6 separate regions of the Homo sapiens genome follow, and all the other regions are linked to region 6. The links are contacts of gene promoters, found by promoter capture Hi-C in human tissues and cell types (Jung and others, 2019). All regions are on one chromosome and are shown on one strand. The core of a region is centred on a gene start or on the middle of the fragment in contact, and the rest is flanking DNA. Distances in the headings are between cores, read along the strand shown. Region 1 has its middle 38 kb from the start of ZNF334. Region 2 has its middle 28 kb from the start of CD40. Region 3 overlaps LOC105372633 (a long non-coding RNA gene). Region 4 overlaps CD40 (CD40 molecule). Region 5 has its middle 7.6 kb from the start of CD40. Region 6 holds the start of CDH22 (cadherin 22).

Region 1 (4,449 bases), core at 1,719-4,218, 170 kb after region 6:
CTGTTCTAAGTAAGTTTCATTAGTGTTAATTTTATTAGTCTTTTTAATAACTGAATTTTGACTTTGTTGCTTCCTTGCATTGTATGGTTTCTATTTCAGATTGCTATTTGGTATTTCTTTGTTTATACTTTGTTTTGCTGTTCCAACATCTTGAGATAAGTGCTTCATTATTAATTTTTTCTTGTATTCTTTTCAGTTGTATGCATGTAAGATGATAAACTTCTCCTTAAGAACTGCTCTAACTATACCTTGATAGACAGTTCTTTCTTATGATTCAGTTCAAACTATCCTTTTATTTCCTTCAGTTTGATAACAATCCCATTCAAGATCATTTATTCTTCATCCCCTCCTGTCCTCACTTTCCCAGATTTCAATCATGCATTTAAAAATGGAGAACATATTATCTAAATACAGACTCCTAGCTGCTAAGGATTTATTCATCAATGAACAAGATAGACAAATCCTGCTCCCTCATGGAGTGTACATTCTAGTGAGGAAGACAAACCAGTTACAAATGTACAGGGTGGCTATAAAGTTGGGAAACATGAGTAAATATTTACTTTATGTGAGCATGTTTTATAATCAATTAATACCTGCACTTGACAGGGTAGGGGAAGGTCACCCAAAGTGAGATTGTACGTGATTGTATATTGGGATTGTATGTGACCCCATTATGCCAGAATGCAGAGGGACTGGTTTGATGATTAATTTTCAAAGATGGATTGGGTGATATGGCCACGTGGAATTGGCTGTGCACTCTCCAGATCTTAAGCTCATCAATTACTTCTTCTGAGGGATGCTAAATGCACTGGTGAGTCTTGTGAAAATCAGAGTCAAGGCCGGGCGCTGTGGCTCACGCCTGTAATCCCAGCACTTTGGGAGGCTGAGGTGGGTGGATCACGAGGTCAGGAATTCGAGACCAGCCTGGCTGACATGGCGAAACCCCGTCTCTACTAAAAATACAAAAATTAGCTGAGTGTGGTGGCATGTGCCTGTAATCCCAGCTACTTGGGAGGCTGAGGCAGGAGAATCACTTGAACCCGGGAGGTGGGAGGTGGAGGTTGCAGTGAGCCAAGACCATGCCACTGCATTCCAGCTGGGGCAACAGAGTGAGACCGTATCTCAAAAAAAAAAAAAAAATGGAAATCAGAGTCAAAGCACACTGAACCACACATTGCTAACTAGGGAGAAGAATTTGAATATATTGTAACATCAGTAAACAATTATATATATGTATATACTCACCTATATCCAGAATGTATGGCCACCATGTAGACCGATGAGGAGTCAATAGCCAGAATAATCAGATCATGCTGATCCAAATCCACATCTGTAGGAGTTTAAAGTCTTATATAGAGGCCTACCACCTCTGCAAGATGCCTTGAAGTCTTTTTGCTCAAATTCTCCCTTTGCATGTTGGGGCTAAAGCAAATCTAGAACAAAGAATTATTGTTAAGACTAAGTGTAAAGTATGTGAAGTATAAAGAGCAAAATGCTAAACAGACAAAGTCTTCAATAGATACAATAATTGCATAATGTATTGCTCTTTGGGGGCAAATCAGGGTGCAAATAATTTCACCAATTGGCATAAGCTTCTATCACCTTGGTTAAATTAGGAGCTATGATAACCCCCATCAATAAATGGTAGTTTAGTGAGAGAGACAGAGAGAAGAGAAGAGGGGGTGAAGGGACAGAAAGGAACAGAAACAGAGGCACAGATAGATTATCAAAGTTGACAGGAGCTTCCAGTATCATCCAGTACTTATTCTCACCCTGTGATTTACATGCCCTAAGGAAACTGTGGGTCTATTCCAACAAGTAAAGGAAACCACAGGATTTACTTGGCATATCTCCTTGGAGGATAAATTGTACTTAATGTCACATAATAAAAGCCATTACTATTCTATGAAAAATATAAATATGGAGTAAATCACAAAATCATTCATTTTAAAAATAAAAACTAACCTTTTCAGCAAATGGTGCTGGAGCAATTGGGCATCCATAGACATAAAAAACCAAACCTTGACTTAAACCTCAAATTTTATACAAAAACGAACTCAAAATGAATCATGGACATAAATGTAAAACTATAAAACTTTTAGGAAAAAATAAAAATCTTTAGACTGGAAACAAAAACATGATCCATAAAAGAAGATATTTATAAATTAGACCTCATCAAAATTAAAAACTTTTGCTCTGTGAAAGACAAGTGAAGAGAATGAAATGACAAACTACAAAGTGGGAGAACGTATTTACAAACTACACATTTGACGAAGGGTTGGTATCTAATATATACAAAGACCTCTCGAAACTCAACAGCAAAAAAAGAAAAAAAAATCCAATTAGAAAGTGGGAAAAAGACATGAAAGGACATTTCAATGACAAGGATATACAGATGGAAAATAAGCACATGAAAAGTGTTCAACATCATTAGCCAGTAAGGAAATGCAAATTAAAACCACAGTGTGATATCACTACATGCCTATCAAAATGGCTAAAATAAAAAACAGTAACACCACTACATGCTGGCCAGGATGTGGTGAGACTGGATCACTCATACATTGCTGGTGGGAATGTAAAATGGTACAATCACTCTGGAAAATAGTTTGGCAGTTTCTTATGTGCAATTCCTCTACAACCTGGCAATTTTACTAATGGGCATTTATCCCAGAAAATAAAAACATATGTTAGCACAAGAACCTATACACTAATTTTCATAGTAGCTTCATTTGTAATAGCCCCAAACAGGAAGCAGCTCAGATGCCTTTTAAACAAATGGCATACATCCATACCACGGAATACTATTCAGCAATAACAAGAAGCAAATTATCAATACATATAGTGACTTGGATGAATCTCCAGGGAATTATGTTGATGATAAAAACCAATCCCAGAAGTTATATACTGCATGATAATATTTATATAACATTCTTGAAACGATAATATTTTAGAAATGGAGAAGAGATTAGTAGTTACCTGGGACAGGAGAGAGACTGGGGAGGCAGTGGGTGTGGTTATTGAAGAAGTTAATGTGGGTAACACCAGAGATCCTGGAGGTGATGACAGTGTTCTGTAACATGACAATGGTGGTGAATACTAGAACCTACATGTGATAAAACTGTATAGAATTAACACACACATACAAATGAAGTAAAGCTAAGGAAATATGAATAAGATCGGAGAATTTTATCAACCTCAATATCCTGGTTTTGATATTGTACTATCATTTTGCAAGATGTTACCATTAGGCAAAACTGGGTAAAGGGTATATGAGGGCTCTATTTTTTCTTGCAACTGCATGTCAACCTACAATTATCTCAATACAAATGTCAATTATACAAAATAGAAGTTAGATTTAATGTCTTTCTTTTTTATATGTGCAGTCTCAGGTTATACCTGCAGAACCATATACTTGTATTATGCTGCTGACAAAAAAGTGTGAAAGAACCCAATGCCTTCATTTTAAAGATGAGTCACATAAAGGTTAGGCGACTATCCAAGCTGATAAAGCTTGTTTATATTAAGCATTTATCATGGTTTCTGCCTTTCCATAAGTTATAATGATGGAGAATTTTATGGCAATGTTAAGACGTCCAGTCCTGGGTTCAGACAACTTTGGGATATATCCTATCAGGATTCAAACGGTCTCACCATGTGATCTTAGAAAAATAATGTTTGCATTTTCTACTCATTGAAATGAGATAATAAAATAATCCCATACACCGATGGGATTTCAAGATACTGAAATAAAATAATTCATGCTGGTACAGTGGATGCGTGATAGGAGACTCTCAAAATAATGCCTGTTTTCCGGCATATTAAGTGCTGGACACTAGAGCTAAAGGCTTTGAATACAAAGAGATAAAAGGTACAGCTTCTGCTTCCATAAACAGAGTCTAGGAGAGAGAATAACACAAAGATAATTGCACAGATTAAAATGTGAAAAATAGGAGAGTACAGGGAATTGGTGGTTGATGAGGCTGGATAAGTAAATGCAGCAGGTGAGGAAGGCACCTTTTTAGGAATCCACACTTTGGCTAGGTTTATGTCATCAAAGAGCCTAACAGCCTGTTTTTTTGTTTTTTGGTTTTTTTTTTTCACGTGACAGGATCTTGCTTTATTGCCCAGGCTGGAGTGCAGTGATGTGATCATAGCTCACTGCTGCCTCAAATGGTGGGGCTCAAGTGATCTTCTCACCTCAGCCTCCCAAGTAGCCTGGACTATAGGCACATGCCACCATACCTGGAATTTTAAAAGTGTTTGTAGAGACAAGGTCTTGCTATGTTGCCCAGGATGGTCTCAGACTTCTGGCCTCAGGAAATCCTCCTGCCTCAGCCCTGTAAAGTGCTAGGATTACAGGTATGAGCCGCCATGGCTGGCCGAGAGCCTGGTCTTTTAGAGTTAGATGGATTTGAGGATGGAGCTCAGTGCTATCCCTCACCAGCTGTG
Region 2 (4,172 bases), core at 1,530-4,029, 160 kb before region 6:
AAGACTCATGTGAATGACTGAAGTTGGTTTGTAGGCTTATAAGGATAAACTGCAGACATCCTAGTTTAACATTGAAGACCTATGCTTAACTCTAGCTTCGTGTGCTGCCCTTTTTAAAATGACTATGTTGACCTTATCCCTATTTCTGGAACACTTAGGAATCTTTCAAGCTGCTTTGTCTTTGCAAATTTTGGGCCCTCCCTGGGATGTCCCTTCTCCTTTTCTTCATCTGGTTGAACCCAAGTCAATATAGGTGGGCTTGATAGGGGATGGGGCATGTGCCAGGCACTGAGCTTGGTGCTGGTGAGACAGTGCAGAGGACTAAGACAGATATGGTCTGGGGCCTTGGCTGGCTCCCAGACAGGGTGAGGAGACAGATGAGGACCTGCCACACCCACACTGGGCTGCAGGAATGCAGTAGAAGAACCTAACACAGCCTGAGAGATCAGAGAAGGCTTCCCCAGAAAGGGACGCTTCAGCTGAGTAGTTGGCCAGGCAAAGAAGAGGGGAGGAGTGCCCCAGATGGAGGGAACAGTCTGGGCGAAAGCCTCAAGACAGCGCGCAGCAAGTTGGAGGAATCCTCAGAAGGTGGGTGTGGCTGGAACACAGCCCAGAAGGTGGTGAGTGCTGAGAAACGGTCCTAGAGAGAAAGCCGGAGCCTGGGGATCAGGGCCCTCATAGGCCATGCCAAGGAATCTGGATACTTGCAGAGCTCAGTTAGATTGCATACAACGCTAGCTGGGTGTGGTGGCGCACCCCTGTAGTCCCAGCTACTCAGGAGGCTGAGGCAGGAGAATCGCTTCAACTCCAGAGGCAGAGGTTGCAGTGAGCCGAGATTGCATCACTGCACTCCAGCCTGGGCAACAGAGTGAGACTCTGTCGCAAAAAAAAAAAAAAAAAAAAAAAAAAAAAGATTCCATACAACTCCAAATGATGGCTGTTTGACTATTTTTTCTTCACATCACGGATCACCCCTGCCGTTATACATCCATCTGTTGATTGTCTTTCCCCCTACTAGAAAGGACAAGGACTTTGTGCTGTTCACTGCTGTGTCCCCAACAGCCAGAAGAGTGCCTGGCTCACACAGACACTCAATAAATACGTATTGAATGCATGACTTTACTGGCCTGTGTCCTCTGCTTACTGAGTTATTGAAAGTCAGGGACCTGTTGGATTCATCATTGCGTCCCCAGGGCCTAGCACAGAGCTTGATGCACATGCTGTTTAATAAATATTGAAAGAATAAATGAATGGAAAAACGTCTTCCCCAATGTGTTACACACTCCCGCAGGGCCGGGACTATTTGATTTATGTATCTAGCGCCCAACACATTGCCTGGCAGAAAGCAGACCCTCAATAAAGGTTTGTTGAGCTAGACAAGAGTCTCTTCTGCATGCGGGCCCTTGTCAGGCCTGTCATGGGAGCTCAAATAAAGGCAACCAGACCCTATACTACTGGATCAGGCAGAAAGAGATACCTTGTTGGCAAAGGATCTTAGGACCCTGGAGTCATAGGCTGTGCAGGCAGGATCAGCCTGCATGTGTAGGGTGGCCAGAGAGACCAAAGAGGGCTTCCCGGGGGTCAGGAATCCTGCCTTTGTTTATGTCCCCTAGCACTGCCCTTCTCTGGCAACTGGCAGGCAGCCCCACCAATGAGGTTTGGGCACAGCTGGGGGTGGAATGGGATGGGACAGATGGTGGGAGACAAGGAAACCCCCATGTTTTCCTCCATCTGTTACATTTAATTGACTTCCCGCAGAAAGAAAAAAAAATAAACCAGTTGCAAGGATGAAATTGCTAATTAAAAGGCCCTCTGATTAGATAGACAAATATTTACCAATTATGCCTGACCCTGCCTGTCCCCTTTTACGTCTGCGAACTCCCCCATCAGCACTGTGGCCACATCATACCCAGCTGGTGGCTCTTCCACCAATCACTCTCTTGGGGCTCAGACTGGCTGCGGGTGAAATAGGGTAGAAGAAAGGTGAATACTGCAAACAGCCGTTCAACAAACGCGATGCCTGTTGCATGGTCAGGCTTAGTGCTGGGCCCCTGGAAGCCATAGCAGAATTTCCATGGACAGCCTTTCAAGTTGTGTGCTGCACAAAGGTGCACCTGCAGGAGAGTGGGGGCTCCCCCTGTCAACCTGGGACCCCTGGCACCAGGCAAGGGGGATTTTTATTTTCTTTGCGCAACGGGTCATTAGCTTGCCAAGCTGAATCCACAGGATTTTGCCTGCCCAGAGGGGGTACCTTTTTCTAATTCACACAGAATGGGCTAGTGGCAGCTCTACAGAGATGAAGATAGTTCAGTTCCTGATCCTCAAGGGCTCTAGGGATAGTGGGGGAGAAAAATATGCCTATGATGTATAAACATTCATGTGTGATTTTTTTTCTTTTTTCTTTTCTTTTTTTTTTGAGGACAGGGTCTCACTGTGTCACCCAGGCTGAGTGCAGTGGCACGATTACGACTTGCTGCAGCCTTGAGACCCCTCTCTCCCCAGCAGCCTCCTGAGGAGCTGGGATTACTGGTGTGCATCACCATGCCTGGCTAATTTTTCATTTTTTGTAGAGACAAGATCTCTCTATGTTACCCAGGCTGGTCTCGAACTCCTGGATGCAAGCAATCCTCCTGCCTCAGCCTCCCAAAGTCCTGGGATTACAAGTGTGAGCTACCATGCCTGGCTTAAACATTCATTCAATAAACATTTCTTGTTTACTGGCCACTAATGTTTGCCAAGCACTGTACTAGATTCTGGGAGAGAGAGAGATGAGTAATATATGTTTCCTGCCCTCCAGAAGCCGGGCTATTTGGGGGAGACAGAGATACTTACCTGGGTCTGCCCTTCCTTTTTCCCCTTCCCTTTTTTAATTCCAAATAATCTTCACCTGGGAGGTATGAATAACCGCTCTGGACTCTCACCATTCAAATCCTGGCTTTACCGTGTCTTGGCTGTGTGACCTTGGGCAAGTTATCTCACCTCTCTCTGCCTCAGGTTGCCTCTCTGTAAACTGGAGATAATGGTAACTGCATCCCAGGGTTATTATAATGATTAAATAAATTAGCACATGGAATTCATGCCTGACACGGAGTGCTCAGTAAAGGTTAGCTATTGTGTGACTGTTTCTTTTTTTTTTTTGAGTGCCTACTGTGTGCCAGGCCCTGAGTCCTGGGGATACAGAACTGTTACCAGTTCATTTCCTCTCCCTTCAGAGCTCACAGTGCGGAACACACAGAGAAACCCACCAACACACAGGCAGGCTCACACATACTCAGGCCTTGCTGAAAGAAAGTTGTGGTGGCAGGGTGTGGTTCTAGAATGAATGAGTCTTAGCTTGGAAGTCAGAAGATTTGGGGTTGTCTTAAGTCCAAGATAGGGAAACGGAATGATTGCCTGGTAAGGTAACGATCTCTACATCACTGGAGGTATGTAAACCAAAGTGTGAAGTTGCCAGAGAGAGGCATCTTGGCTGTGGGAGAAAAGTAGGTCAATTCTGGTACGATCGTCCCCTCCTGGGACAGTGAGACAAGCTTCCCAGGACCAGCTGGGGAGCCCTAGAGAAGCCCGGCACTGGCAATGTCCTGAGAGTCCATTCCTGGAGCCAAGGGACCCAGGCTTCCTACCGTGTATGTCCATTTCCTGGGCAAGGCACTGGATGGCAGGACTTTAAGCAGAGGCAGGAAAGGGCAACTTCCAGCCTCTTGCAGAAGGCCTGATTGCGGGGGCAGTCAGTTGGGATTGCTCAGCCCTGAAGCAGAGACTGAGAACCCCGCCTGCCTGTGTGACCACCATCCATGTCCACTCCCTCTCTGAGCTTCAGTTTCTCCACCGGTAAAATGGGAAGAGAATGGACCAGAGAGTATTTTTCTCCCATTCCCAAATTACAGAGTTTTTTTTTTTTTTTTTAAGACAGGTCTTGCTGTATCACCCAGGCTGGAGTGCAGTGGTGTGATCATAGCTCACTGCAGCCTTGACCTCCTGGACTCAGGTGATCCTCCTGCCTTAGCCTCCCTAGTAACTGGGACTATAGGCACAGGCCACCATGCCTGGCTAATTTTGTATTTTTATTTTTTGGTAGTAACAGAGTCTCCCTGTGTTGTGCAGGCTGGTCTCAAACTCCTGGCCTCAAGCGATCCTCCTGCCTGCCCTCAAGCGATCCTCCTGCCTTGGGA
Region 3 (4,207 bases), core at 1,211-3,710, 140 kb after region 6:
TAATCCATAAATAAGTATGTTCATCCATTTTTTTAGATTTTTGAAATTTCTTTCATCAGCATTTTGTAGTTCTTTGCCTCACTATCTAGATCCCAAATATTTTCTGTTTTTTTTTTCTGAAAGTTTTATCTCTTACAATTTAAACCTGAGTAGTTCTCAGCATGCAAGCCCCATACATGTTTTGTTGGATTTAAATTTAAGTACTTTGGTTTTTGATAAATTGTAAGTGCTACTGTATTTTAAGTTTCAGTGCCCATGTGTTCCTTGCTGGTATAAAGAAATACAACATATTCCTGCAGTCTAGCTGAAGTCACTTATCAGCTCTAGGAGTTTCTGTTTTTTGTTTTATTTTTGGTAGATCTTTGAGATTTCCTACTTTGATAAGCATGTTATCCACGAATAGGGACAGTTTTATTACTACCTTTCTGATCTGTATGCCTTTTATTTCCTTTTCTTACCTTATTGCATTGGGTAGAACTTCTAACACTGTTTAACAATAATGGTAAGAGCAGTCATCCTTGCCCTTTTCCTCTTCTCAGGGGTACAACCATTCAGTCTTTCACTGTTAAGTATGATGCTGGCTGTGGAGTTGTTATAGATGCTCTTTAACAAGTTAGGACAAATTCCCTCTATTTCTCTTTTTCTGAGCATTTTTAAAACCATGAATGGGTATTTTGTGAAATGCTTTTTCTGTATTGATTGGTAAGATCAATTTTCTTTTGTATCCAGTTAGTATGTTGGATTATGTTGACTGATTTGTGAATAGTAAAACTGCCCTGCATTCCTGCAGTAAGCTTCGCTGTGTTACAAGATCTTTGGGGTGTTGCTTTTCTGGCCAGAAACCTCTGTGGCCAGTGGTGCCTTTGCCCAAGTTTTGTTTGGGCTCACTGGGCTCATTCCGCCCACTCGGCCTGGCAGGCTGTGCTCAGCTCATGCTACCAGCCTGGACCCCATGTCTGCCAAAGGCAAGTCAGGCATGGAGTGGCAAGGGGTGTGTGAGTGAGCGTGGGGTCTGGCCACTGTGCAGTCAGACATGTCAGCTGCTGCAGTGGGGTGGGCAGCTCCAGGTGCTGGCACAGGCACTAGTCCTCTGTGAGGCTGTGGCTGAGCCAGGCACACTGCACGCAGCTTCCACAGCTGGTACTGGGGAACAAAGTGGTGCCTGGAGGCTTGGAGATGCCAGGAACCACAGGGCTCCCAAGAAAGAGTCATAGCCCTGGCTTGGGGAGCTCCCAGGTCTGGGCTTCCCGAAGGGCCATAGCTATTCTTTCTTTCTCTTCACCCTCAATGTAGTGAGCAAGGGGCATGTTTCAACCCTGTTTGTGTTACAGCTCTTTTAGCCCTACCATTCAATGGGTCCCAAGTTCTTGTCCTATAACCAGGAAGAATGAGGTACCCAGACAAGTGGAGGGTGAGCAAGATGAAAAGGAGCTTTACTGAGCGACAGAACAGTTTGGAGGAAACCCGCAGTGGGTAGCTCCTTTCCACAGCCAGGGTGTCCTGATGAGTGTTCAGCTCCTAGCAAAGAGGAGGCCCTGGAGTGGGAAGCTCCTCTTTGCATGCAGGTGGTCACATTGTCTCTGCAGCTCTCAGCAGAGAGGAGGCCCTGGAGTGGGTAGCTCCTCTCTGCTGTTGGTCATCCTAATGTCTGCTCAGCTCTGGTTGAGCGCAGGGGTATTATGGGCTTCAGAGGGGGGAAAGTGTATGCCAACTGGTCCATGGGCAGGCCCAGAAAAGGCACCACAAGCTCCCACTCTGGTCTGTGGGGCTGGCAGCCCGACGCCAGCCTTCAGGCCCTCCCTGGCCTGAAGGTGGGGCCTCACTGGGGACCTGCCCCCTTCTGCCCAGGAGCCCATCTGCCTCCTGCCACTGCACATGGCACCCAGGCTGCTCACAGCAAGGGGCACCTACAGGCCAGGGCAAGCCGCCCTCAACTTCGTCATTGTGTATACTTTTTTTTACATTGTTGAATTCTACTTGCTAATTTAAAAAAATGTTGCATCTATATTCATGATATTAGTCTTTTGTTTTTTGTACTATCTTTTTTTTTTGGTTTGAGTATCAGATTTAGTACTAGCTTCATAAAATAAATGGGAAAGTCTACTCTCATCTTCAATTTTCTGGAAGAGATTTTGTAGAATTAGTGTTAATTCTTTTTTAAACTTTTGGTAGAATTGTCCAGTGAACTCTCCTGGTCTAGGAGCTGTTTTTAAATTTTAGTTTTAAAATTACAAATTCAACTTTTAAAATTCCATTTCATACTGGGTGAGTTGTAGTTTTTGAGGAATTGGCCTGTTTAATTTAAGCTGTCAAATTTATGTGGGTAGAGTTGTTTGTAGTATTCCCCTACTATCCTTCTGATGTACACAGAGCCTGTAGTGATATCCCATTTCATCCTTGATGTTTCATTCCGTTTCACCCTCTTTCTTTTCTCTCCTTATTACTGGTTGTGGGAATGGGAATTCCAGCTTCTCCCTAGGCCTCTACTAAGACCTCCCTGACTTGGGGGACAGTTGGGTGGGGCGGCTCATGACTGCTCCCCAAGGGGCCTCCACTGACACAAGGGGTGGTGGCCTCATTACCACTAGTTGGTGGTGAAAGTCCTGATCCCCCTCTGGGTTTTCTGGTACACTGCCCCAGCAGAGCAGAGAGGGGCACCTCATGACTGCTGGATGGGAGTGGAAGTCCAGACTCCCCCACTGTCTTCACTGATATTGCAGGGAGCCCATGGGGAGAGTTGGGGTGCCTCTTTACAGCCTGGTGTGGGTGGAATTCTAGGATCTCCACCTCTGCCTTTGCTTGTGTGAGTGTGGGTAGGGCCACAGTCTTTCTGTGGTGTTCGGCTGGAGTAGAGAGGTTATTGTCTCAAGGTTTTCTGTCTCGTAAGGCTGCCCATTTTCTGCTTTCTGTTTTGTTTTTGCTTTGTATAGAGGGAGTAGGCTTTTGATGGGGCTTTTCCCCCCATCTCAAACACTAGAATTTCCAGGTCGCGAGCTTCTTCAGTTCTAAGTCTGGGATATATGAGGCAAAATGAAAGCCAGGAGAATGCACTATGCGGTCCCAAGTTTCCTAGCTGGTCTGCCTTCTTTTCTCAACTTTTCAGAATATTTTTATACTTGCTTTACATACAAACTAAATCTACTGAAAAAATACAATAATCAAAATAAATGGATGGGCTCAATAGCCAATAGAGGAGACAGAGGAAAAAAAAATCACTGCACTGACAACTATAACTAGAGAAATCACCCAGACTGAAAAACAGAGAGAAAATAAATGGAAAAAAATGAATGGAGCTTCAGGGACCTGTGAGACTATCACAGGGTCCAGTGTTTGTGTCATCGAACTTGCAGAAGGAGAAGAGAAAGAAGACAAGGCTGAAAAGGTATTCAAAGAAATAATGGCTGAAAGTTTCCCAAATGTTCAGAGTTTTTAGTTGTCCTTACTGGGAGGAATAGGGAGAAGCGTGTCTGCTCTATCTTCCTGAAAGCTAAAGAACCAAGCACTGCTGGATGGGGACCCAGGGTCTCCAAGCTGAGAAGAACACTGATAAGGCATGCACGGAAGCAGTCCTGGGAGGACTCTGCCACAGGCACAAACACCACTGGACACCCAAAGTCATACTGCTGGGCGCTGGAGTCCATTGCTTCTTCTGAGAAGAATCGCTAACTTTTCTCGGGTCTTTGTACCTTTAGCCCCTGATTCAAAGTCTTAGGGAGGCTCACCTAAGTGGCCAGTCGCAGGGAGTGTGCCCAGCCCTGCCTGTCAGCAGGTGTGGAAAGGAAATGTACAGCATTCTGCAGCATCCCTGGTGGAAGCTGGAGCCTGTCTTCCATTAAGCCGTACTCACTGTGGGATTCCTCAATTTGTCCAATTAGGAGGTCAGTGCATGAGGTTGCTGTACCCTCATACCCCCGCAACACTCAGTTTTACTGAACTTCCTAATATTTGCCAATATAATAGGTGTAAAATTATATCTCATTCTTGCATCAATTTGCATTTCTGGGATTATTAACATTTGTGAGCACCTCTCATATGAGTGTTAGCTTTTGAGAGTTCTCATTCTGTAAATTGCCTGTTTATATCCTAGATATATTTATGTTTACTGTGCTTCTGAATGGGAGCTTATTTTCCTGAGTCTTACAGACATTTGAGACAGTTACATTATAAAAGTATATTGCTGAGTGAAGGGATAATCATAAGACATAGT
Region 4 (4,530 bases), core at 469-2,968, 180 kb before region 6:
TCACAAACGGAGAGGGGGATGCTACAGGGATCTGGCGGATAGAGGCCAGGGATGCTGCTGAACATCTGCAATGCATAGGACAGCCCACCCCCACCCCCACACCCCCAGTAAATAATGATCCAGCCCAAGTGTCACTGGTGCTGACGTTGAGTAACCCTATCTTAAGCTGAACTCATCATCTCTCCATTCCAGCCTTGGTGGATTCTGTCTCCTCTGAACCATTCCCATCTCACTTTAGCCTACCTAGATCACAAAGCTTGGCACTCATTATAGACTCCCCTATTTATTACTCCTTCAAGATGTGCAAGAATCTTTTCTCTGCACTTTTAAGTTCTGTAAGAAGAGTCTGTGTCGTTCCTATAATAACCAGCATAGGACGTTGCACGTGTTGTGTGCTCAGTGAACCTGGATTTGTTGATTGTTGACTGACTCACTCTAGAGTTGGAAATCTTATGCTTGGGGAAACTTAATATCTCTTTCTTTCTCTGTGTGTGTGCATTTGTGCACGTGTCTGTGCATAGCTGTGAGACCAAAGACCTGGTTGTGCAACAGGCAGGCACAAACAAGACTGATGTTGTCTGTGGTGAGTCCTGGACAATGGGCCCTGGAGAAAGCCTAGGAAGGTGGGAACTGAAGGGGGAGATGAGGCACACAGGAACACTGGATGGGAAAAAGGGGAGGGGAGGCAGTTTGGGGGTGTGGTATCACAGCTCTGCCACTTATCTTGGGAGTCTGGGCAAATCACTTCCCCTCTCTTAGCCTCAGTTTCTTCATCTGTAAAATGGGATGATAACAGCACTTCCTTAGTAGGTTTTGATTTTAGAGTGAGAAGGTTGGCCTACAGTAAAGATCAGATAATGTAAATCAGTGAAAAAGGTCAGGGGTAAGAAAATTACATTCTCTTTACCTAACGCTAAATGACCAGTTAATGGGTGCAGCACACCAACATGGTACATGTATACATATGTAACAAACCTGCACATTATGCACATGTACCCTAAAGCTTAAAGTATAATAATAATAAAATTTAAAAAAACGAAAAATACATTCTCTTTGCTTTTTCTCAAAATGTACTTTCCTCTTTGTAGGGCTGGGACTAGAATGAGGTGAGCAAGGCACTTGCCCTCGGGCGCAATATTTAAGAAGGTGCCATAAAAGTGTAGTAATCAAGGTAAATTCATTTTGATGCAATATTTTTAAAAATAAAAATTAATGCAAAGAAATCCATGATGAGCAAGATAGCAACATTTTAAATAAAGAACAGGATCCGACCCTGTGTTTGCATGACCCTGCCTCACTCACCTCACCCTAATCCTGGCCCTGGTTCCAGTAAAAGGAATAGGCAGCCAGCCTGCAGGCCGTAGTTTGCTGACTTGGTGTCCGCCTGATGATTTTCAAAATATGGCATTAAAAGAATGTTTACCTTGATGACTGAGTGTTTTGGACATCCTTTTCAATTTTGTCCTGAAACAATTTCATCCCTTGCCTCACGCTAGTCTCCGCCCTGCCTTTTGGTCTTTCTTTTATTTTCCCACTTTGAAAAAAAAATTCGGCATGAGAAATACTTTACCTTTCCCCTCCACTCTTCTATACCAAAAGCAACATGCAGACATGAATCATGCTAGACCTCGGCATTGGGCAGAGAGCAGGGAGTGGCGGGGAGCATGGTGAGCAGGTGGTGACAGCCACTGCCACCACTCGCTTCTAGATGGTTCCCAGGTGGGGAGGCTGCCAACTGGAACCCAGTCTTCCCAGTTTGTAAGAGAAATCAGATGTCTAGGTTTGAATATGTGATCTCCCAGTTTAAAAATGTCGGCAAATATTTCCAAACGTTAAGAAAATGTTCTGGCTCCTTTAAAGACATCTGCCAGCCACATTTCCCCAAGGACCGCGGTTTGAACCTTCTGATGTAGATGAGCTCTGACATTGGAAGATTCTGGAGTCTGACAAGTCACAGCAGGTTGAGGGTAGGGAGAAACTGCAGGTGAGGGGTGCATGCTGAAGTCCTGATTTCTCCAGGTCCCCAGGATCGGCTGAGAGCCCTGGTGGTGATCCCCATCATCTTCGGGATCCTGTTTGCCATCCTCTTGGTGCTGGTCTTTATCAGTGAGTCCTCAGGTGGGGAGGTGTTGGGGGAGGGAGGGGAGACCACCTGTTTCTTATCTGGCCTCTCCAACTCCCCATCCTTTTTTTTTTTTTTTTTTTTTTTAGAAAAGGTGGCCAAGAAGCCAACCAATAAGGTAGGTCACCCCTGAGAACCCGGGACAGAGTTTTGACAAACTGGGAAGATGGCCTCACGGTTGCCTATGGGGCAGTAAAACTGATTCAGAGTCTGTCTCTGCAGCCAGTGGGGTGGCAGCAGAATTGGGGACTGTCATCCCCACCCACCATGCTCCTTCCATCCAGAGCTCAATCCCCCACAGAACTGCCCCTGGCACCACTGGCAGAGCCTAACACTGGCTGTTCTTCACTCCTTTCCTGGCATTCAACGCGTGGGGAGCTGCATCTTTGGGCCTTGGGGCTGGGTCAAATGGGTGGGAGCAAATGTGGCAGCCCCTTAAGCCCACTGGCTCCCACTCTGGAAGCTCTTCGTCGCCCTTGGTGTGGCCAGCAGGGGGCAGGAGGCACCCGAGGAATCAGCACTGACCCGCCGTCTGGGAAAGGGGGGAGGGCTTGGGGAAGGGATCCGCTTCCCAGGGAGGGGCTCCTCAGAGGCACAGCTGCCCCTGCTGCTGGGGGTGACCTCACACCTTGCCTCTCCAGGCCCCCCACCCCAAGCAGGAACCCCAGGAGATCAATTTTCCCGACGATCTTCCTGGCTCCAACACTGCTGCTCCAGTGCAGGAGACTTTACATGGATGCCAACCGGTCACCCAGGAGGATGGCAAAGAGAGTCGCATCTCAGTGCAGGAGAGACAGTGAGGCTGCACCCACCCAGGAGTGTGGCCACGTGGGCAAACAGGCAGTTGGCCAGAGAGCCTGGTGCTGCTGCTGCTGTGGCGTGAGGGTGAGGGGCTGGCACTGACTGGGCATAGCTCCCCGCTTCTGCCTGCACCCCTGCAGTTTGAGACAGGAGACCTGGCACTGGATGCAGAAACAGTTCACCTTGAAGAACCTCTCACTTCACCCTGGAGCCCATCCAGTCTCCCAACTTGTATTAAAGACAGAGGCAGAAGTTTGGTGGTGGTGGTGTTGGGGTATGGTTTAGTAATATCCACCAGACCTTCCGATCCAGCAGTTTGGTGCCCAGAGAGGCATCATGGTGGCTTCCCTGCGCCCAGGAAGCCATATACACAGATGCCCATTGCAGCATTGTTTGTGATAGTGAACAACTGGAAGCTGCTTAACTGTCCATCAGCAGGAGACTGGCTAAATAAAATTAGAATATATTTATACAACAGAATCTCAAAAACACTGTTGAGTAAGGAAAAAAAGGCATGCTGCTGAATGATGGGTATGGAACTTTTTAAAAAAGTACATGCTTTTATGTATGTATATTGCCTATGGATATATGTATAAATACAATATGCATCATATATTGATATAACAAGGGTTCTGGAAGGGTACACAGAAAACCCACAGCTCGAAGAGTGGTGACGTCTGGGGTGGGGAAGAAGGGTCTGGGGGAGGGTTGGTTAAAGGGAGATTTGGCTTTCCCATAATGCTTCATCATTTTTCCCAAAAGGAGAGTGAATTCACATAATGCTTATGTAATTAAAAAATCATCAAACATGTAAAAAGAAAAACGGGGGTGAACATGCTGGGTGACATGAGCTATTTAACCTGCTGTCAGGCTCACGGAATGAGGGCATTTTCTGTAGATAAATAAGAATGTCCCCAGGCTGCTGCCCCTCCAGGGTGGTTTCCATGTGTGCTCACATGTGGTATTGAGATTGCAAAGTGCTCTTCCCATTTGATTCATGTTCACAAAAATAGCCTTCCCCAGCAGGGTGGGTCTGCATCCCTCCCTCTTTTACAGAGGTGGAAATGAGGTCCAGAGAGGCGAAGTGACTTGCCTGTGGTCACACAGCGGTGTCTGGTGGTGCCATGCTCAGAGCTCCTCACTCTGGGTCCTGAGCTCCTCCCAGATCTGCCTGCTGTCTGGAACTGACATCTGTAGCTCCTTCCCAGGGAGATCCTGGGTCTCTCACCGCCTTCTGACCTCCCTGTGGCTGCAGGAGCTACTGCTTCTCGGTCAGATGGTATCCCCTTCCCCCAAGCAGTATCTCAGGATAAAAATAAACCATCCTGTTCTCTTTTCCTGCTGAGCCAACTGAGGGGGAGCCTAGCCAGGAGGAGCGGCAGATGGAGTGGGAGCAGAGGGGAGGGGAGGGGAGGAAGGTTGGAGGACAAGGAGGAGAAGGAAGAGCAATGCAAAGTGCCATGCAGAACCCCGGCACAAAGGTTCGAGGTGAGGTTTAACCCAGGGGTCTCAGCCTTTCCCAGGAAAGAACCTGCTTTGGATTTCCCCAACACATCCTGCTGGCTGGAGGGTGTGGGGCGATGGGGGGCAAGGGGAGATGTGGAGAG
Region 5 (4,240 bases), core at 1,329-3,828, 200 kb before region 6:
TAGCAAGTAGTTTCTTTGAGAGGTGACTCCGGGGAGCACTGATGGGGTAATGGGGAACTGAGACAGAGAGGAGAAGGAAGCCATTACAGGGTGGGTGAATGAGCAGGTTACACAGTGGGCAACTGTGGCTTCACCTTGACTGGACAGACAGTGTAGAACACATACCTTTTAGTTATCCCAGCTGCGGGGAAAGGCAGCTGCGGCATTGATCCACCAACTCCTCATCTGTCATTGGTAGAAGGCTGCATTATCTCCAGCCCTTCTGGCCTGCCCTCTGAAGGGCTAAACATGCTCTTGTGGCCAAAAAAGGCTCTGGGGCAGAAGGTCACAGGTGCTTGAGATAGGGGACAGGAAGAGTGGGAACAGTGAATATGGAAGGCCTGAGGGTGGAGTACCAACAAGGTGCTACATGGGGATTGGATTAAGTCCTCTTTCTGCTCTAACCAATTAGTGGCTAGCGGTGCTAGTACTAGGTATTATTAGGTATTTTTACATCATAAAACCTGAAAGCATAATGACTACAATCTACCAGAGCAGGGATCCCCAACACCCCGGCTGTGGACCGGTACCAGTCCGTGGCCTGTTAGGAGCCGGGCGCCCAGCAGGAGGTGAGCGGCTGGCTAGCGAGCATTACAGGCTGAGCTCTGCCTCCTGTCAGATCAGCGATGGCATTAGATTTTCATGAGACTGCGAACTCTATAGTGAACCGCGCAGGTGAGGGATCTAGGTTGCGTGCTTTTTATGAGAATCTAATGTCTGATGATCTGAGGTGGAACCGTTTTATCCAAAACCAGGAACCATCCTTCCCAACCCCTCTATCCGTGGAAATATTGTCTTCCACAAAACTGGCCCCTGGTGCCAAAAAGGTTGGGGACTGCTGTACCAGAGCCTATCTGTAGAGGAGAGACTGGAGATACAATTAGACATCTGAGCTGATTTTCAACATGGATGACAGAGTAAAGGGTTAATATTCAGGGCTGGGATTTTGTCTAGTTCACGTGACCTAGTAAGTGCTCAATGCATATTAGTTGAGTGACTACATGATTGAATAAAGTTAATATGAAACAGACAATTTAATAGAAAATGGACAAAGGATATATACAGTTAGTTCACAGAGGAGGATATCCAAATGGTTGATAAACATTTGATAGGATCCTCAACTTCCCTAATAATTGAGGAAATGTAAATAAATGCAGCAAAGAGATCTCTCTCTTCACCATCAAATGGTCAAATATTAAAATGAATGATAACATTTAGTACTGGGGAGAAGGCAGAGTAAAGGTCCCTTCAAACATATGAATTTCCCAAGGTTTTTGGAAAGTATCTTTAAAATATCTGTTAGCATTTACAATATAAATACCCACAAATTCCTTCTAGAAATCTATTGTATAGAAATAAAAACACACGTGCCTAACCATACGTGTAAAAACATTGTTGCAGCCTGCTTTGCAGTAGAGAGAACCTGGATGCAACCTGAATGTACATCAACAGGAAAATGGTTAAATTGATTGTGACAAGTCCACACCATGGAATCTTACACAATTATTTTAAAGAAAGAATGTGTACGATCTGTATCTACTAACCTGGAATTATTTCCATGATATATTATTAAGTGACAAAAATGACTGCAAAAAAAGATAGAGATTCCTTTTCTTATTAAATGAACAAATATATTCTTAAATGTGTAGACAGATATTTATCAGGCTATTATGGGGAGAGAGGTGTAAAGATAGATAAAGAAAAAAAAAATACATGCCAAGGCGGGAGGATTACTTGAGTCCAGGGGTTTGAGGCTGCAGTGAGTTATGATAGTGCTACTGTACTGCAGCCTGGGTGACAGAGTGAGACCCTGTCTCCAATAAAAAAAATAGGAAAAGAAAAGAAAAAATAAAAATAGGAGTTTATAAAGGTGGAAATAATATACGTGGTCTAATATTATAGGAAAATGTAAAATAGATAATCTATTTATGATATCCCTTGGAAAGAAAAATCTGAAGGTCCCTATAGGCAAGGATTAAAAGGTGGCACACGCAAATGTACAAACCAAAATGCTGATTTCATTATGAGATGGGACCATGGATTTTTTTGGTCTGTAATAAAGCGCCTGTTTCATATTTATCTTGAGTGGGAAAGTCTCGATTACTCACTGGGCTATGGCTGCATGAAAATATACAGAATTGTATCTCTAGATCCTGATTCTCAAAGTGCTTTTTTCTTTTCCCCAGCTAATTCACTGGGCAGAAGTTGCCTTCTAATGGGTCTTTCTTCACGGTCTGGCATTTTTAAGGCAATCAGAACTTTGAGGATGTTTTCCCTGCATTATTGGGCCAAAAACTATCTGCCCTCTCTGGTTCTTACGTTTGGTGTGTGCCCAAAATTAGGAAGAGCAAGGGGAAAGGAGAAAAATGTCATCCTGCATAGAGAACAACAAGTTGTGCCGAGTGTTCTGAGGGAACATTGCAGGGCAGATGGATTGTTCTGGATGTTCAGGATGTGTACCCTTCTTACTTGAGGGGAAGGAGGGCAGGAGGCTTGACAAGGAAGCCAAGGAGGCATAGAATGTGCGTTGTAAGCCAAGTGTGGCCACTCTGATTCCTTTCCCAAGACTTTGAACCTCGAAGGAGTGATGCTCAAGTTCAGGGGTAGTTAGAGATTGTGTTCATTATCTATTGCTGGGTAAGAGGTTGACCTGAAACTTAGTGGCTTGAAACAAGAAAACATCTATTATCTCACAGTTTCTGTGGGTTAGGAATCCAGAAGCAACTTAGCTGGGTGGTTCTGATTAGATCACCACTGGGATCAATGTGTCAGCTGGGGCTGAAGTCATATGAGGCTTGACTGCTGCGGGAGGGTCCACTTCCACTTCCACTTCCACTTTCACTTCCTATGTGGCTGAGGGCTGGAAGCTTTGAATCCTTGCCATATGGACTTCTCCATAGGCTGCCTGAGTGCTGAGTGTCCTCACGACATGGCAGACAGCTGCTTCCCCAGAGGGCCTGGAGACAGTGCAGGGGGTGGGGGAGAGGGGAGAGAGAGAGAGAGAGAGGAGAGAAGAGAGAGAAAGGAGAGAGAGAAGAGAAGGAGAGAGAAAGAAGAGAGAGAAAGAGAAGAGAGAGAGAAAGGAGAGAGAAAGAAGAAGGAGAGAGAGAAGAGAGAAAGGAGAGAGAGAAAGAAGAGAGAAAGAAAAGAGAGAAGAGAAAGGAGAGAGAGAAAGGAGAGAGAAGAGAGAGAAAGAAGACAGAGAAAGGAGAGAGAGAAGAGAAAAGAGAAGAGAGAGAGAAGAGAGAGAGGAGACAGAGAAGGGAGAGAGAAAGAAGAGAGAGAAGAGAGAAAAAGAAGAGTGAGACAGTGCACACATAAGATGGAAGCCTCAGTCCTTTTATTTTTATTTAATTTTTTTGTAGAGATGAATTATTGCTGTGTTGCTCAGCTGGTCTAGAACTCCTTGCTTTAAGTGATCCTTCCTTTCTTGACCTCCCAAAGTGTTGGAATTACAGGCATGAGCCACTGCACCTGACCTCAGTGGGTTTGTAACCTAACCTTGATGTGACCTACACTCACTTCTGCTGGTTTCTGTTGGTCACACAGACCAACCCTGGTACAATAAGGAAGGGGACTACATAAGGGTGTGAAGACCAGGAGGTAGGGATTGTTGAGGGCTGTCTTGGAGGTAGGCTGGCACAGAGATGGTTTATAGAACTTTTCTGTGGCAGAGTCTCATCTATTCCCTGCCTCCTGTGGTTTTGCCTGGGTGCCTCCCTTGAGCCTTCCTGTCGGCTCTCTGGGCTGCCCAACACCCTTTCAATAGTGTCCTCTTTTATTTAAGTTCACTGCTACATCTTCTCTTGTTTGCAAGGACAACTCTGATTAGAACAGGTGCTACAAGAGAGGACAGTGGCGGGGGAGGTGGGTGGGTAGCAGAGGAAACTCATTTTAGATAAGATGGTCAGGGAAGGCCTCTCTGAGGAGGGGCCACTTACCCTGAGACATGAATGGTGAGGAAGAGTCAGCAGATGAAAGGTGGGAGGAGGGGCGTTTTAGACAGAGGGGGCAGCATAGCCAAAGCTCTGCGGTGGGAACCAAGGTTGCCAATGGCCAGGTCACGCAGCCTCTTGAGGTCACAGTAAAAACTTGGATCCTTTCCCCTGCAACCAAAGCATCTCTTCTTCCAAACATCAGAGTCTGGGAGGGCTGAGGACCAGGCTCCAGGCCTCATTGTGCGGGGATCAGATCAGCCGAG
Region 6 (4,467 bases), core at 1,807-4,306:
CCTCTCAGCCTGTTTCCCCACCTGGTCCCCAGCCCCTAGCACCCTTCCTGGCTCAGCTATGGGGAGGAATGAGGAAGTCCTTGGCCCCGGGGCCTCAGCCCAGACACCACCGTAGGGTCTTCTATTCCCTCACTCCCTCCCAGGCCATGCAGTGCCAGCTGCTACCCGTGTTATATAAACAGAAATCATTCACTCTCTCTCACTCTACCTGAGGCTGCATTTCAGATTGGAGCTTCCTGATGGAAGAAAAAGGGGAGGGGGAAGAACAGAGAGAGAGAGGAGAGGAAGTTTAATTGGCTGACTCTTATCGCCCATGTGGTAAATAAACTGGCTGCTCCGAACTTTGCCAACTCGGGAGGAGACGGGCCCTCCTGGGCTCCCTGCCTTAGCTATGGCCCGGCCCCCTGTCAGACAACTTCAGAATGCAGCGCTCCTGCAAAGCTCTCAGAAAGACCAGTGCCTGGGGAAGCAGCAGGGGCTTTGGGGGTTCCAACCTCTAGGTATGATTATTCCAGAGCACGACCAGAAACATCCAGAGATCACAGCCACCCTTTTGACAGAAAGGCTGTGACTCACCCGGAGGTCACAACACACTTTTAGGGGCCAAACTTTGTCCTCTGCTTCTGCTACTCGGCGTCTCTGCTAAAGGCATTCAACAGCTTTCCTCCGGCACTGGCCTGGGAGCACTGGGGGTCTAACTTGAACACCTCATGCTGAATTTAGAGCAAGTGTCTTCTTGTCCTGCCTGCAGCGTGAAGCCAAGAAACGGCTCTGTTTTGCCCCAGGCCTACCCAACACATAAGCAGCGTTGGTGAGGCCTGGATGTCAAGATGCCTGGGTTCCTATTCCGGCTCTGGGTATAGCTTACCATGTGACCTCGGGCTGCTGTTGCCAATCCTTGAAAATGGAAAAGAGGGCAGCCCAGGTGGTCTCCAATGTGCTGCTCACAGTTAGGAATAGGGAAAGGGGTTGTCTCCAGGGGTCCCCTGATGGGGCCACCCAAGAGGTACAGGTGCCCCTTAGCTGAGAGAGACCTGGCTGGCTTTATAAAGTACCTGCCCCCGAGGCACTGGCAGTGGTGGACCGGGAAGGGCACACAGACATCTCCAGGAAGCAGTGTTTAAATGTTGGCAATGCCCTTCCCTTCCAGGAGGAATGGAAGAGGAGTGTCCCAGACACTGGGACAAGGAGGGAAATAAGGGTGAAGTAGAGAAATGGCTGGGGCAGGGAACAGTTGAGTGCTACAGAAAAACTGAGGCAGACAGGATAGAAGATGGGTCGGGGTTGGGGGGGACGAGGAAATGGTCATTGGTGGGCAAAGACCAAAGGATGTCACTATGGGTGTAGAGGCCAAGTTTCAACAAGGGCTGTAGACTAGGGGCAACTGAGGGGGACGGAGTGGGCACTGATGGACACATATACGGGATACAAATGAAGGACAGAGAGTCGCGGTGGTTAGGGAGGAGCCTTTGGGCCCTAGGGCAGTGGTGATGCTGATATAGGGTATTGGCGCTGACCAGTGGGAGAAGAGGATGAGATCCTGAACCTGGGTGGAGAGGGAGAGAGAGCTGGCAACAGCCAAAGCCCTCAAATGAGCCGCTGCCTGTGCTGGGGGCACCTCGGCCAGCCCCAGAAACCTGGGGAGTGCTGGAATCAGCCCCACGGAAAAAGAAGCTGGCATGCGCAACCCTGGCGACGCCCGAAGGGTTTGGAGAGAAGAGGTTCCAAGGAGCGAGCACCTCGGAAGACCTGAGCAGCTTCAAACAGCAGCTTCTCTGCCCGCCACAAGGGGGTGCCCTGCACCTCGGGGAGACCTCGGGGGATCCTGGATCAGCCCTACCCTCTGCAGCCCCGCCTGGGACAGGGCCCGACGTTGCCAGAGAAGAGGCAGCGGGGAGGCGCGAGCGAGACGGGTCCACACTGTGCCCACCCAGGGCTGCCCGGCACCCCGCGCGCCCACGCAGTCCACTCTTCACAGTAAACGCCGCGGCCCCCGAGGGTTAGCCCTAAGTGGCGCTCTCTTTGGACGTTAGGCTGTCGGGGGCCCCGTCCTTCTTCCCCAGCGGGGACGGTGTCTCCGGAGTCGGGTCCTAAGGAAGAGAGCAGCGCTGGCTCTCGCTCACCGCCAGCCCGCCCGACGGCCATAGGGCAGGGGGGGTCGCGCCGGTGGGGCCGGCAGGGGTCCCTGTGGGCCGCCTCCCCGGCTCAGAGGGGACCAGAACCGTGCGTGTCGCCGCGGCTGGAGTCAGCCTCCGGGTGTCCCCGGACGCGGCACGACCTCGCACACACACACCGCGCGCACACGCTCGCGCCGTGCGGTATTTTCCCGGCCCCGGACCCCGCCTCTGGGAGGGGCCGGGGAGCCGAGCCCCGCTAGCAGGGTTGGGGGACCGGGAACGCCTGGGTCCCAGCCCTCGCGTCAGGGCTGTGCGCCACCTTCCCAGCCCCTTTTGGCGCGCCGGCTCGGCCCCTGGCGCTGCCACCCCTCGGCCCGCGGGGGTCCCGGAGGCTCCCGGGCGCGCGGCGGACGAGGTTGTGGGGACGGGTGGGAGCTGCGGGCTTCGGGCCGAGAGGCGGCTCGGCTCCGCGCCGGGGAAAGTTTGGACGTGGGAAACTCCCTCCCCGCCCTCCCGGCCGAGAGGAGGGGGCGCGCAGGGCCGGGCGCAGGCACCCCGGCTCCTCCTGCGGCTGGAGGCTCGCCCCCCGCGCCGCCTGCCCGGCCGCTCCCGCCGGCCAGGGGGCTCCCTCCCTGCCGGGCAGCCTCCCCTCGGCGGCGATCCGGCCGCTCCTCCCGCGGCACCCCGCGCTCTTACCTCGGGGAGCGGCCCGGGGCTCCCCCTAGTCCTGCCGCCTCGGGACGCTGCGTGGGGCGGGAGCCCCGGCGCGGGCAGCGGGCGAGTCCGGAGCCCCGCGGCCGCCCGCAGGAGCCGGAGGGAGAGCGGGAGCGAGAGGGGGAGCCGCGGCGGCGTGTGCGCGCGTGTGTGTGAGCGAGAGAGCGAGAGAGCGAGAGAGCGAGGGAGTGAGCGAGCGAGCGGGAGCGAGGGAGTGTGCGTGTCTGACTGGGGGGAAGTGTGCAAGGGACGGATCCCTTCCTTCCTCCCGCAGCCTCTGGTGGAGACTCGGAGAATGCAGGGCCCGCCGGGCAGGAGCCGCGCAGCGCCAAGCCGCAGGCGGCCGCCGGCCCGGACCCCCGCAGCCGGGGAACCCCAGCCCCCGCCCCCCGGATCGCGCCCCTCCTACACCAGGAGGGGACAGCCTTTCCCTCTCTCGGGCGGCCCAGTCCCAGGAAACCCCCCAGGGGACAGTGCCCCTCCCTCCTCCAACCCCAGATCCGCGCGAAGGGAGCGCCCCCAGGAGGGGGACCATCTACCTCCTCGCCTGGCAGCTCCCCAGGTGGCCGCAGTTTGAGACCAGAGCCTATTTCCCCACCTGATTTTACTGCGAATAGGGCTTCCCATTTCCGCCCCCTGACTACTGCGGGAGGCCGCCTTCAGAGGAGCAGGGGCGCAGGCCAGGGTAGGAGCAGGCTTCTCGAACAGTGGCCGCCCCGGCTTGCTGCCCAGAAAGGCACCTTGCACAGACCAGATCTGCCAGTTCAGAAACAGTCACTGTGCATTGAGGTGGACACCGACCAGGTGCCCAGGGCTGAGTCTCCAGGCAGGTGGGAGGTCGGGTGTCCCCGGGAGAGAAACTTGTGGGCTTTTCCTCTGGAGAGTCCCGCTGGACATCCTTGCAACCAACAAAGTAAGCAGGCAAAACAAGACACCTCCATCCTTAACTTGGTGCCACCTTGACCTGGAGAAGTCTCCCAATAAAATCTTCCCACTGCCCAGAAACTCCTTGCTGGTTGGGTTTTCCGTTCTTTTAAAAATCCGGCTGGTCTGCTCCCTGATGTTTTTTCCACCTGGCCCTGTTTCTTTCTCCTGGCTGCCTGGCTCTCCTTACTACTTCATCTCTCTGGGATGAGGCCTAATGGAGGAGACCCTCCCACCCCACTCCTGAGTTCCCAATATGAGGTCGTTGATGGTAGGATAGGACCAGTGACTCCCATAGACCCACCCTTTGTCTTGGGTTGTAGGTCCCCTTAGGAGTTGCCCGCCCCCCTATTCCCCATGGCTTCCAGATAGGTGAGTGAAGGATAACAGGAGACTGGACAGCTGCAGACCTCTGTCCCGCCAAGCTGCCAATGACCAGCCATTTAATCACCCACAAGCAGCTGCTGAAGTTCATGGCAAAGAGGGGGCAGGGCCCTCCAGGACCCCCAGCTCTACCTCGCCCCTATCCTTCTCTCCTCCTCGCCTCCTTCCCCAATTTCCATCTCCATCTCCACACCCTAGTCCGTCTTGCTGATGATTGGAATCACCTCTCCTGCTGGCTGCCCCTCTGGCCCCTCCTACTAAACTCCATCATTCATTTATTTATTTTGAGATGTATTCTCCACTGTGCCAGTCTGTTCCCTCCCCTACG

The links. Contacts are between HindIII fragments. The study calls those that stand out against the background at their distance.
Region 1: a fragment that was not itself captured here is called in contact with the fragment with the promoter of CDH22 in region 6 in 1 of the 25 tissues and cell types used here (adrenal gland).
Region 2: a contact is called between a fragment that was not itself captured here and the fragment with the promoter of CDH22 in region 6, in 1 of the 25 tissues and cell types used here (dorsolateral prefrontal cortex).
Region 3: a contact is called between a fragment that was not itself captured here and the fragment with the promoter of CDH22 in region 6, in 2 of the 25 tissues and cell types used here (dorsolateral prefrontal cortex and spleen).
Region 4: a fragment that was not itself captured here is called in contact with the fragment with the promoter of CDH22 in region 6 in 3 of the 25 tissues and cell types used here (dorsolateral prefrontal cortex, hippocampus and pancreas).
Region 5: a fragment that was not itself captured here is called in contact with the fragment with the promoter of CDH22 in region 6 in 7 of the 25 tissues and cell types used here (H1 embryonic stem cells, bladder, dorsolateral prefrontal cortex and 4 more).

What each region holds. Positions count from the first base shown.
Region 1 is chr20:46,473,256-46,477,704 of GRCh38, forward strand. It overlaps a transcript of ZNF334 not described here. Among named protein-coding and RNA genes, the nearest start is that of ZNF334, 38 kb to the right of the region's middle. The HindIII fragment of the contact is 5,642 bases long and covers 148-4,449 here.
Region 2 is chr20:46,144,239-46,148,410 of GRCh38, forward strand. No RefSeq gene overlaps it. Among named protein-coding and RNA genes, the nearest start is that of CD40, 28 kb to the left of the region's middle. The HindIII fragment of the contact is 4,601 bases long and covers 480-4,172 here.
Region 3 is chr20:46,444,183-46,448,389 of GRCh38, forward strand. LOC105372633 (a long non-coding RNA gene) reads left to right here. Exons shown (of 4, transcript NR_146919.1): 4 at 1-789. Among named protein-coding and RNA genes, the nearest start is that of ELMO2, 40 kb to the left of the region's middle. The HindIII fragment of the contact is 7,481 bases long and covers 1-4,207 here.
Region 4 is chr20:46,126,119-46,130,648 of GRCh38, forward strand. CD40 (CD40 molecule) reads left to right here. Exons shown (of 9, transcript NM_001250.6): 6 at 522-583; 7 at 2,020-2,106; 8 at 2,212-2,240; 9 at 2,764-3,740. The coding sequence ends at 2,922. Among named protein-coding and RNA genes, the nearest start is that of CD40, 10 kb to the left of the region's middle. RefSeq lists an enhancer at 3,802-3,951. The HindIII fragment of the contact is 3,703 bases long and covers 1-3,570 here.
Region 5 is chr20:46,108,593-46,112,832 of GRCh38, forward strand. No RefSeq gene overlaps it. Among named protein-coding and RNA genes, the nearest start is that of CD40, 7.6 kb to the right of the region's middle. RefSeq lists enhancers at 1-123, 204-253. The HindIII fragment of the contact is 5,271 bases long and covers 1-4,240 here.
Region 6 is chr20:46,305,442-46,309,908 of GRCh38, forward strand. It overlaps CDH22 (cadherin 22), which reads right to left and starts at 3,057. Exons shown (of 12, transcript NM_021248.3): 1 at 2,814-3,057. The HindIII fragment of the contact is 29,361 bases long and covers 1-4,467 here.